Linked DNA regions of Homo sapiens: region 1 is linked to region 2. The links are contacts of gene promoters, found by promoter capture Hi-C in blood cells and fetal thymus (Javierre and others, 2016). All regions are on one chromosome and are shown on one strand. Each heading gives the region's core, a stretch centred on a gene start or on the middle of the fragment in contact. The rest is flanking DNA. Distances are from core to core; before and after follow the strand shown. Region 1 overlaps ZNF850 (zinc finger protein 850). Region 2 holds the start of FPR3 (formyl peptide receptor 3).

Evidence for each region. The method cuts DNA at HindIII sites, captures the fragments that hold promoters and counts their contacts. A CHiCAGO score of 5 or more calls a contact.
Region 1: a contact is called between a fragment that was not itself captured here and the fragment with the promoter of FPR3 in region 2, in 1 of 17 cell types (total CD4 T cells). The highest score is 6.2, in total CD4 T cells.

The regions. Positions count from the first base shown.
Region 1 is chr19:36,748,736-36,754,308 of GRCh38, forward strand. ZNF850 (zinc finger protein 850) reads right to left here. Exons shown (of 5, transcript NM_001193552.2): 5 at 1-2,069. Among named protein-coding and RNA genes, the nearest start is that of ZNF850, 21 kb to the right of the region's middle. The HindIII fragment of the contact is 2,006 bases long and covers 1,606-3,611 here.
Region 2 is chr19:51,791,214-51,797,013 of GRCh38, forward strand. FPR3 (formyl peptide receptor 3) reads left to right here and starts at 3,944. Exons shown (of 2, transcript NM_002030.5): 1 at 3,944-4,118. The HindIII fragment of the contact is 12,110 bases long and covers 1-5,800 here.

The DNA.
Region 1 (5,573 bases), core at 1,359-3,858, about 15 Mb before region 2:
AGAAGTAAAAGATTTCCCACATTCCTTACAATCATAGGGTTTCTCACCAGTGTGAATTTGCTGATGTTGAATTAGTGTTGAGTGAGAAGTAAAAGATTTCCCACATTCCTTACCATCATAGGGTTTCTCATCAGTGTGATTTTGCTGATGTTGAATTAGTCCTGAGCAGAAAGTAAAAGATTTCCCACATTCTTTACATTCATAAGGTTTCTCACCAGTATGAATTCTCCGATGTTGATTAAGGTATGTACGCTGTCTAAAGGCCTTCCCACAGTCCGGACATTCATAGGGTTTCTCACCAGTGTGAATTCTGTGATGTTGGGTGAGTCCTGAGACACTGACAAAGGCTTTCCCACATTCCTGACATTGATAAGGTTTCTCACCAGTATGGATTTGTTGATGTTGAGTAAGTCGTAAACGAAGTCTAAAGGCCTTCCCACATTCCTTACAATCATAAGGTTTCTCACCAGTGTGAATTTGCTGATGTTGAAGTAGTGTTGAGCCAACAGTAAAAGATTTTCCACATTCCTTACAGTGATAGGGTTTCTCACCAGTGTGAATTCGCTGATGTTGAATTAGTGCTGAGCGAGAAGTAAAAGATTTTCCACATTCTTTACAATCATAGGGTTTCTCACCAGTGTGAACTGCCTGATGTCCAATTAGCCCTGAGCGAAAAGTAAAAGATTTTCCACATTCCTTACAATGATAGGGTTTCTCACCAGTGTGAATTCGCTGATGTTGAAGTAGTGCTGAGCCAGAAGCAAAAGATTTTCCACATTCTTTACAATTATAGGGTTTCTCACCAGTGTGGATTCGCTGGTGTCGATTGCGTGTTGAGCGAAAAGTAAAAGATTTTCCACATTCCTTACAACAATAGGGTTTCTCACCAGTGTGAATCCGCTGATGTTGAAGTAGTGCTGAGCCCGAAGCAAAAGATTTCCCACACTCCTTACAATCATAGGGTTTCTCACCAGTGTGAATTCGCTGATGTTGAATTAGTGTTGAGCCAGCAGTAAAAGATTTTCCACATTCTTTACAATCATAGGGTTTCTCACCAGTGTGAATTGCCTGGTGTCCAATTAACCCTGAGCGAAAAGTAAAAGATTTCCCACATTCCTTACAATCATAGGGTTTCTCACCAGTGTGAATTCGCTGATGTCGAATTAGAGCTGAGTGAAAAGTAAAAGATTTTCCACATTCCTTACAGTCATAGGGTTTCTCACCAGTGTGAATTCGCTGATGTCGAATTAGTGCTGAGCCTGAAGCAAAAGATTTTCCACATTCCTTACAATCATACGGTTTCTCACCAGTGTGAATTTGCTGGTGTCGAATTAGTGTTGAGCCAACAGTAAAAGATTTTCCACATTGCTTACAATGATAGGGTTTCTCACCAGTGTGAATTTGCTGATGTTGATTTAGTGTTGAGCCAGAAGTAAAAGATTTCCCACATTCTTTACATTCATAAGGTTTGTCACCAGTATGAATTCTCCAATGTTGAATAAGATGTGCAGACGGTCTAAAGGCCTTCACGGATTCCTGACACTCATGAGGTCTCTCATCTGTATACATTTTCTGGTGTTGAATAAGATGTGAGCCAGAAATAAAAGCTTTTCCATATTCTTTACATGCACAGGGCTTTTCCCCAGTATGAATTCTCTGATGTTTAACAAGATAGGAAAAGTGATGAAAGGCCTTCCCACACTCCTTACATTTATAGAGTTTTTCACCAGTATGGGTTTCTTGCTGTTGTGTAAGTTCTGAGCCATACTTAAAAGCCATACATTCTGTGGATTTATACAGTTTCTCTCCAGGATGAATCCGATGATGCAGAGTGAGAGATGTCTGTAGGCAGAAAGTTGGTGTTGTTTCATAAGTCATTATTGCTTTTTCCAAATATCGCTCCTGATTTATATCTTGGTGCTGAAACTGGCCTTTGCATTCCCAGTCATCTCTGACACTGGAGCCCACAAGGCTATGACATTTTTCCATTCTCACCCACTGAGATGATGTTACTTCATAGATTTCTTTTGGCAAACATGAATCTTTGGTCTTACATCTAAACTCCGAGTCTGAAAAATAACCAGAAAGCAAAAACATAGCATTTCCTTGTTGAGTAGAAATAAAAACATCTATGGTAGAAAGGGGAGACAAACTGAAAATAATGTCCTTAAGAATTAAAGATGTGTTGGGCGTGGTGGCTCATGCCTGTAATCCCAGCGCTTTGGGAGTCTGAGACAGGAGGATTGCTTGAGCCCAGGAGTTCAAGGCTGCAGTGAGCTGTGATTGTGCCACTACACTCCAGCCTGGGCCACAGAGCAAGACCCTGTCTTAAAAAAAAAAAAAAAAAAAAAAAGATGGTGTACATACATGGTATACATGGTGATAGTATGTACCCTTATATGATGTGATGAGAACAGTATTTTATCTCTGTGATCTTCCTTCTAAAAATACTGAACTCCAGTCTAATCACTGGAAAAACACCAGACAAATCCCAAAATGAGAGACAATCTATGAAATACCTGGCCAGTACTCTCCAAAACTATTGAGATAATCACAAACAAGGAAAGCCTGAAAAGCTGTCAAAGCAAAGAGGAGCCAAGGGAAACATAATGACTCAATGCAATGTGTTAGCCTAGCCAAGATCCTAGAATAGGAAAAAAGGACATTAGGTAAAAGCTAAGGAGGCCAGGCACAGTGGCTCACACCTATAATCCCAGCACTTTGGGAGGCTGAAGCGGGCGGACCACAAGGTCAGGAGTTCAAGACCAGCCTGGCCAACATGGTGAAACCCTGTCTCTATTAAAAATACAAAAATGAGCCAGACGTGTGGCCCATGCCTGTAATCTCAGCTACTCGGGAGGCTGAGACAGGAGAATCACTTGAGCCCGGGAGGCTGAGGTTGCAGTGAGCCAAGATCGTACCATTGCACTCCAGCCTAGGCAACAAAAACCAGACTCCATCTCAAAAAAAAAAAAAAAAAAAAAAAAAAGCTAAGGAAATCTGAGTAAAGTAGGGGTTTCCATTAATAATAATAGATCTCAGCACCATAGGAAAGGTAAATAATAATAACAACATTGCTTCAACAATGTTATTATTTAATAGGATCAACATTCATTCATTAATTATGACAAATGTACAAATATAAAATGTTAATGGGAAACTACATGTGATGTATATGGGAAGTCTCTGTACTAACCTCACAACTTTTCTGTAAGTCTAAAACTATCCTAAAACCTAAAGTTTACTTTTTTAAAGTGAGAAAGTAACATCTCACTAGCAAAAAGGCCAAGCAAATTTTTGTAAAAGACACAAATGGGGTATCAGTATCTAAAAATTAAAAAATGAATCATTGAAACTTAAAATTCAATGAATGAATTTGAATTGGCAGTATAAGAGTGCAATCATGATTTTTAAAAAATACTATACATCTTCATCCATTGAAGCCTTAGAAACAACCAATCTGGCAGCAATGAACACGCTAATGACAGATTACTGTCTCTAAATACCATTTCTTACTACACAGAACCTAGGCTCCTTGGAGCATCTTGGGATTAGAACAGAAAGTGTGCATTATGAGCATGGAAAAAGCTGGCATATTAGAAAAGCAAAGAAGCTTATTCAAGACTCCTAGGGTCATGTCAAAAAGACTCAGGAACCATTGTGAAGAGGGTCCCATTGGCCAAAGATGGGACAAGTTGAGCATGAATTCAAGAATAAAAACTGTAATCATTGTAATGTAATTACAATAAATCACATCAAATTTTTTTAAATCTGTGTGTTCATAAGGACAATTTTAAAATTACCTAGTAATTTTTAGGGGATGAGATGAGGAATGGCTGCTAACTTCACAAAAACAGAAACAACCAGATATGTGCTTCTTGATGAAATACACAATACTAATATCACATAGTCTGTTTATAGGAAAGAAAGGAGTAAAGGGAGGAGAGCTAAATGTTAAATGACAGATGATCCAGTTTCTTCAACATATAAATTTCAAGGAGAAAAAGAGAAAGAAATCAACAACAAAACCTCACTGGAATGGTTAAATAACTGGAAATGCAAAAGCAAGGTTAAAAGTCATAAAGAAAAGTCAAAGAATTCATTTGTCTTCCTGAAAGTAATACTGAAAGAACAGGGAGCAAACTATATTCAAGATGGAACAGCTAAAATTTATTCAGAAGTGATGAGGTTTTCTAAAAAAAATCTGAGGTGCCATGAGTGCCATGGATGGTAAATTTTAAAAGTTCTACGGGGCCAGGTGCGGTGGCACACGCCTGTAATCTCAGCACTTTGGGAGTCTGAGGCAGGTGGATCACCTGAGGTCAGGAATTCAAGACCAGCCTGGTCAACATGACAAAACCCCGACTTTACTAAAAATACAAAATAAGCCAGGCATGGTGGTGCACGCCTGAATTCTCAGCTACTCAGGGGGCTGAGGCAGAAGAATTGCTTAAATCCAGGAGACAGAGTTTGCAGTGAGCCGAAATTGTGCCACTGCATTCCAGCCTGGGCGACAGAGCGAGACTTCATCTCAGGAAAAAAAAAAAAAAAAAAAAAGTAAAAGTTCTATAAGCCAGGCATGGTGGTTCATGGCTCTAATCCCAACACTTTGGGATGCCAAGACTGCAAGATTACCAGAGCCCAGGAGTTCAAGACCAGCCTGGGCAACAGCCTGGGACACTGTCTCAAAAAAAAAAAAAAAAAAAAAAAAGCCGGGTGTGGTGGCACATGCCTGTAGCCTCAGGTACTCGGGAGGCTAAGGCGGGAGGATCACCTGAGCCCGGAAAGTCAATGCTGCAATGAGCTGTGGTCAAGCCACTGCACTCCAGCCTGGGTGACCACGGGAGAACCTGTCTCTTAAAAAAAAATTATGCATGATGAAATCCCAATAATAAGAACAAAATGGACAGGAAAAAAAAAAATAGCTTACACACCATGCTTGCTATATGCCAGGCACTATTTTCACTGCTTTACACATTTACTATATAAGCTCATTTAATCTTCAGAAGAATCCTGTGAATAGCATATATATTTGCAAATGAGGACCAGAGAGGTTAAGTAAATTGCCAAAAGTCATAGAGGTATTAAATAGCAGAGCTAGGATTTGAATGGAGGCAATCTGGCTCAAGAGTCCATGCTTTCAACTTCCAAATCAGTGGAATCGAACTAAGTATGGGCATCAGATTTTTTTAAAACCTCAAATCTAAAACAGTGTAAAATAAAACAGGCAACAGAAGACAGGAAAAGTGAGACAAATAGAATAAGCTGGTTAAAAAAATTCAAACAGGCCAAGAGAGGTGGATTGTGCCTGTATTTTCAGCTACTCGGGAGGCTGAGGTATGCAGATTGCTTGAGCCTAGGGGGTTGAGGCTGTGGTGAGCTGTGATTGCTCCACTGCACTCAGCCCGGGCAACAGAGAGAGAGAGACCCTGTCTCAAAAAAAAAAAAAAAAAAATCCAAATACATCACTAATTATAAGGAATGTAAACAAAGAAAAAGTAAATTTCAACCCTTTTAAAATAAAAAGTGACTAAAAACATGAGGACACAAAAAAGTTGAAGTAAAAACTAAGA
Region 2 (5,800 bases), core at 2,694-5,193:
TAGCCAGGCATGGTGGCACATTCCTGTAATCCCAGCTGCTTGAGAGGCTGAGGCACGAGAATCCCTTGAACTCAGGAGGTGGAGGTTGCAGTGAGACGAGATTGCACTGCTGCACTCCAGCCTGGGTGACAAAGCAAGACTTTCTCTCAAAAAAAAAAAGGAAAGAATAAAAAAAGAAAAACCAAGGTTAGGATGCCAACAGATTCCATGTCTGATGAGGGCCCATTACTCATAGACAGCGCCTTCCATATGTCCTCACATGGTGGAAGACAGACAAGCTCCCTCAAGGCTTTCTTACAAAGGCACTAATCCTATTTATGAGGGTGCAACCATCACGCTCTAATCTCCTCCCTATGGTCCCGCCTTTTAATACCATAACCTAGGGGGTTAGGATTTCCCATACAAATCTGGGGAGGGGAGAAACAAACATTCAGACTGTAGCAGATGCAGCAATAGTAACTTTAGGAATGTGGAATTTATAAAGAGCACTCATTCTTCCCCATTCCCCACAGCCATCCAGTCTCCAAGGCTGGTCTACTCAGCCTGGACAATCTGTCTCTAAGCTACGCCTCTTCTTGATCACACTATTCCTGCCCTGGGTAGCTCTTCAAGAACCTTACCTTGATTTCTGGCAACATTCTCCATTCTAATATCTCTGTCTCCAATTAGAAACATTCTCAAAGGCATCCCTTTGCAGGACTACAGAACAATATTTTTCAGAAGCACACACCTGACAAGTCACTGTCCTGCTTAAATGGTTATTCATGTTATTATGAAGAAATTCCAAGTCCTTCTTGTAGCATTCAGGACCCTCCAACAGATGGCTTCTGCCACTTGCTACACACTCAGTGTTTATTGCTGTCTGCCTCACCATCTATGCTCCAATAACCGCAGGTAACCTGCTATTTTTTGACCCTTTCCTGCGTGCTTTCACTCTCCTCTGCCTGGAATGTATTTTTTTTTGCTTCTTTATCTGAGTCTTTAAGATTCATCCCGGATGTTATCTGCATTGCACTTGGAAGTGACCCTGGACCCTGTCAGTCTCAGTTAGTTGTTCCTTTTGGGAAATCTCATAATGAACCAGGCATCTGTCTATCACTATATACCCCCACTCTACTGTGACTGCTTAGGGAAATGGCAGAGGACACCATTGTGCACAAAGGGTGCATAAGACTATGCTTAGTCACAGTAGAGTGACGCTGTCACCTCTTTACCTGGGTAGTCGGCATCTCCAGGGTAAGGCACATGTCTGTTTAAGCTCTATGTCTGCAGGAGCCAGCAAGGGAGCACCTCTTCAGAGGCCTCATGCAATACCCACCACCCTTTATTATACTGATAAGTAAATTCCATTTTAATCAGGTGGCAGGTAGCAATGTGCCACTGTCCTAGGAAAGCAATCATGATTGGCCTAAGCCAATATGAGCAACTTGTCTTTTTTTTTTTTTTTTTTTTTTTTGAGGTAAGGTATTGCTCATTGCCCAGGCTCGAGGGCAGTGGCATCATCATGGCTCACTGCAGCCTCAACTTCCCTGACAAAGCAGTCCTCCCACTTCACCTCCTGAGTAGCTGGAACTACAGGTCCACACCACCACACCCAGCTAATATTTTTTTGGTTTTAGAGATGGGGTCTCACTATGTTGCCCAGGCTGGTCTTGAACTCCTGAGCTCAAGCAATCTTCCTGTCTTGGCCTCCCCAAATTCTGGCATTACAGGCGTGAGCCACTGTCCCTGACCTTTATTTTTATGTATCGGTATTTTTGTTATTTCTTGGCCATTGATTGGTCTAGAGATGGCATGCTCTGGCAATGAAAGACAAGGAGAGGTCCTGAAGAGACTCTGGACAAGGTTTCCCTCTGTAATAAAATGGAAGAGGCATGTGAATGAGTCACATTTTCTGCCTGTCTCATGATTCTGGCTCGGGAGGGCCTGTTGATGCAATGTCCAGAACAGTGGCAGCCATTCTGTGGTCACTTTCAAGAAAGCCCTAGAAGAAAACCAATATGATGATGGAGTGGAAGGGTGACATTAAACTCAATTTTTGTTCAAACTCCAGATCTATCCCCTTCCAAAACTTTTTTTAATAATAAATTTCTCCATGGCTTATGTGCTTCATTGGTTTACTCTACCTTATCACTGAAAACATCCAGTGAATCAGAGAGAAAATAGAAAATAGTTGACTCTTGTTTTGTGGCTCTCCACTGTTTTTCATGGTTCTATTCCTTGGGCTTGAGAACAACATTCTGATGGTGTTTAAAAACTCAGAAAGAGCCCATCTCCTTAGATCAGTAGTCCATAGAGCATCTCCCTAGGGGCAGAAGGTTAGGGGGTTAATCTCGGCAATGGTGTGGAGTGTACAGTGTCTCTCATTTACCTTCCTTACCTCTCTACATGCTCCTAGTTACTGCTTCTCTTTGTAACTCTGAGGTATGAAATACCTCAAAGCATATTTGATTTTGTCACAGATTTCTGGCACAGGGCTCTTAAAACCCTTGGAATTCCCTGAGTGATAGGAGTATTATTTGTTATTCATAAACAGCCCCTTTTGATCATAGCTGAGTTTATGCTAAGGAGATCATGGCCTTAGGATGGGACTGGTCACCAGAAAGACCAAGGGATTAGAGGGTTGGAGCTGTCAGCCCCACCTACTGATCTCCAGGAAGGGGAGGCAGGGACTGGAGATTGAGTTCCATAAAAACTCTTGAACAATGAGATTTGATGAGCTTCCACATTGGTGAACACTCAGGAGTGCTGGGAGAGTGGCTGCCTGAAGAGAGCATGGAAGCTCCATGCACCACCCAACCCCTTCCCTGCCATATACCTGCCATATGCCTCTTTCCAATGGACTATTCCTGAGGTATATTCCTTATATAAAGCAACAGATGCAAACAAAGTGCTTTCCTGAGTTCTGTGTGCCATTCTAGCAATTTATTGGTGTCATTGGAACACCCAATTTATAGCCTGTCAGTCAGAAGTACAAGTAGCCACCTGGGACTTGCAACAGATGTCTGATCTGATCTGAGAACAGTTTGTGGGAGTGAGCCCTTTAGCTTTTCGGATCTGAGCTGAATCCAGGTAGACAGCATCATAACCGAATTTTTAATTGCAGGTGGCCCAGGTGGTGTCCCCAGAGAATTGGAGAATTTCTTGGTGTAGAGAAAAAGTATATTTGGTCAGAAGGATTGTGAAAGTAGAGAATCGAGTTTTTGTTTCACCGTGCATCTTTGTTTTTTTATTGTTTTTCCTCTCATTCTTCTCACCTTGGTAATTGTTTCTTTCATTTTCCTGAATCTCTGAAAAGAAAGGGCCTGGACTCTCAGATTTCTTGGCCTTTGATATTTGGAAGGATGAACTCCAGTCTCCCACAGAAGGCTAGAGGTGAAGGAACATTCAGACACATAAGTTTCCAAGATAAATCGTCTGAGAACATCTCCAAGGTGTCTTCTGGGAATGGTAAGAAACCCTGAGTTTGTGTCACTGGATTGATTCCAGCTCCATTGTCCCCGTGTCCTTCAACTAAGTCTCTGCTGAAGCCTGTTCTATAAAAACAGCAAGTAAGTGGTTTGGACTGACCTATTGTACTAGGTTCGACAAAGCAAACCAAATGGAGTCAGTCATACTAAAACTCCACATCACCAAACCAAAACTAATGTATCTGAACTTTTGAGAAATCAGGAGAGAGAGAAAATGGACAAATTCCTAAAACAGGCCAGTTTCAGTGGGCATGAACATGAAGTTCTGTCTGCTTTCATCTTTACAAAAAAAAAAAAAAAGCAATCTGTGGTAACTTGACTTCAATCAATCAGTTGTTCCTTATTGCTGTCTCTCTATTCCTGCTGCACAAAAAAAATGCAACATCCAGATGACCAATCAGGTTTTTGTTCTCTGTTTCTGCTTTCTTTAGCCCTCCTATCCCTGTAAAACCAACTTCCTTGGCTCTAACTATCAAAACACTCATTTTGTTTTATAGCATGACAGGCTGTCTGATTCCATCTTTATAACCAAAGCCAATTAAGATCTTAAAACCAAACATATAACTTCATCTTTTTACAAGTACTTAGAGCCTGAGTTGCTCCACAGGAATCCAGGAACTGGGCACAGGAAAAGGATCTAAGCTGGTGGTAAGTTGGGGTCTGAAAATTTTAAAGTTATTGTTGAAATGCCTGCTATATGACAGAGCCCTTCTAACTCTGGAGTAGCGTAGTCCAGTGAAGAATCCACTTCGTTAGTATGAAAACAATGTTAACTATTTCATTAACAGTGTTTAATTTGGTTACATGTTCCAGTAACATTCTTTTTTTTTTTTTTTTTTTTTTTTTTTTTGATGGAGTCTTGCGCTGTCACCCAGGCTGGAGTGCAGTGGCACAATCTCAGCCCACTGCAACCTCTGCCTCCCAGGTTCAAGCGATTCTCCTGCCTCAGCCTCCTGAGTAGCTGGGATTACAGGCACCTGCCACCACGCCTGGCTAATTTTTTGTATTTTTAGTAGAGACGGGGTTTCAATATGTTGGCCAGGCTGGTCTTCAACTCCTGACCTCGTGATCTGCCCACCTCGGCCTCCCAAAGTGCTGGGATTACAGGCGTGAGCCAATGTGACTGGCCAATTCTTTATCATATATGTAATTAAATAAAATTTATTACTAAAATAATTTCCCCAAAGGTGTTTTACTTTTTTAAAAACAGTGGCTACAAAAAAATTTTGAGTCCCATATGTAGCTAAAGTTAACACATTATATTTCTACTGGACATGTAGCATTGTAGAGATGTAGCATTGAAGGATCTTGATAGTCCTGTGGAGCTTACGTACTAGTGTGGAGGGTATTTAAGAGAGAAGATAAATGAACAAACAAATAAAGGAGAAAAGTATCTGGTGAGATAGGCTGTACCTGAGCATTCTGCTTTGCAGAGTGGGTGAGGTGGGATCTCTCTGAAATAATATTTGACCTGAAATATGAATATTCAGGATGAGCCAGGTGCAGGAAGCTCAAGACGAAGAGCACGGTAGGCAGAAGGAATAGAGAAAGCAGAAGCCCTGAGATGACAAAGAGCTGCAAGTTCAAGGAATTAGAGCCCAGTGGGTGGAGCCCAGTGTGTCTGATGAGAGTGCAGAGATGAGGTCTGAGGGATGCACAGGGCACATGTGGCAGTGGATAAGGGAACCTAGGATAAGGGAACCTAAGATAAGGGTAACTTAGAAGTCTGGAAGCCATCGGAAGGTATTGCGAATAACATCACCATCTTATTGGACCTTTTTAAAGCTCATTTGGTTTCTGTCTGGAGAATGGATCTTAGGGGAGGGGGCAGCAGGACCAGGAAAAAGCTATTTGCAAGGCTTGTGCAAATATCCAAGCCTGACAGGGCCATGGACACCGGTCGTGGAGATGGCAATGGCTCTGGCTGTGCATTCAGCATGTTCTGTAGATAGAATGAGTAAGACGTGGATGGCGTTGGGTGGTGAGGAAAAGAGAAATGAAAGGTGAGTTCTAGATCTGGAGCTTTAACAACTGAATATTTAATCTCCAAATAGATACAGAATATTGGAAGAGTGGCAGGTCTGGGAGGCAGAGAACATCAACAGTTTGGTAAAACCATGTGAGGTTTGGAGTCTATGGGACTCCCACGGGGAGAGGTTTTATCAGACTTGAGTGCCAGGGAGAGGCCACGGCTGATAATTTAGATGAAAAGACAGCATAATGGTTTAATCCCAGAGACTGGATGATATCATTTATAGAATGTGAGATACCCCAACATTTAGAGTCAAATTTAGAATAGAAAACACCGTAAATTGGACTAAAAAGAGGAA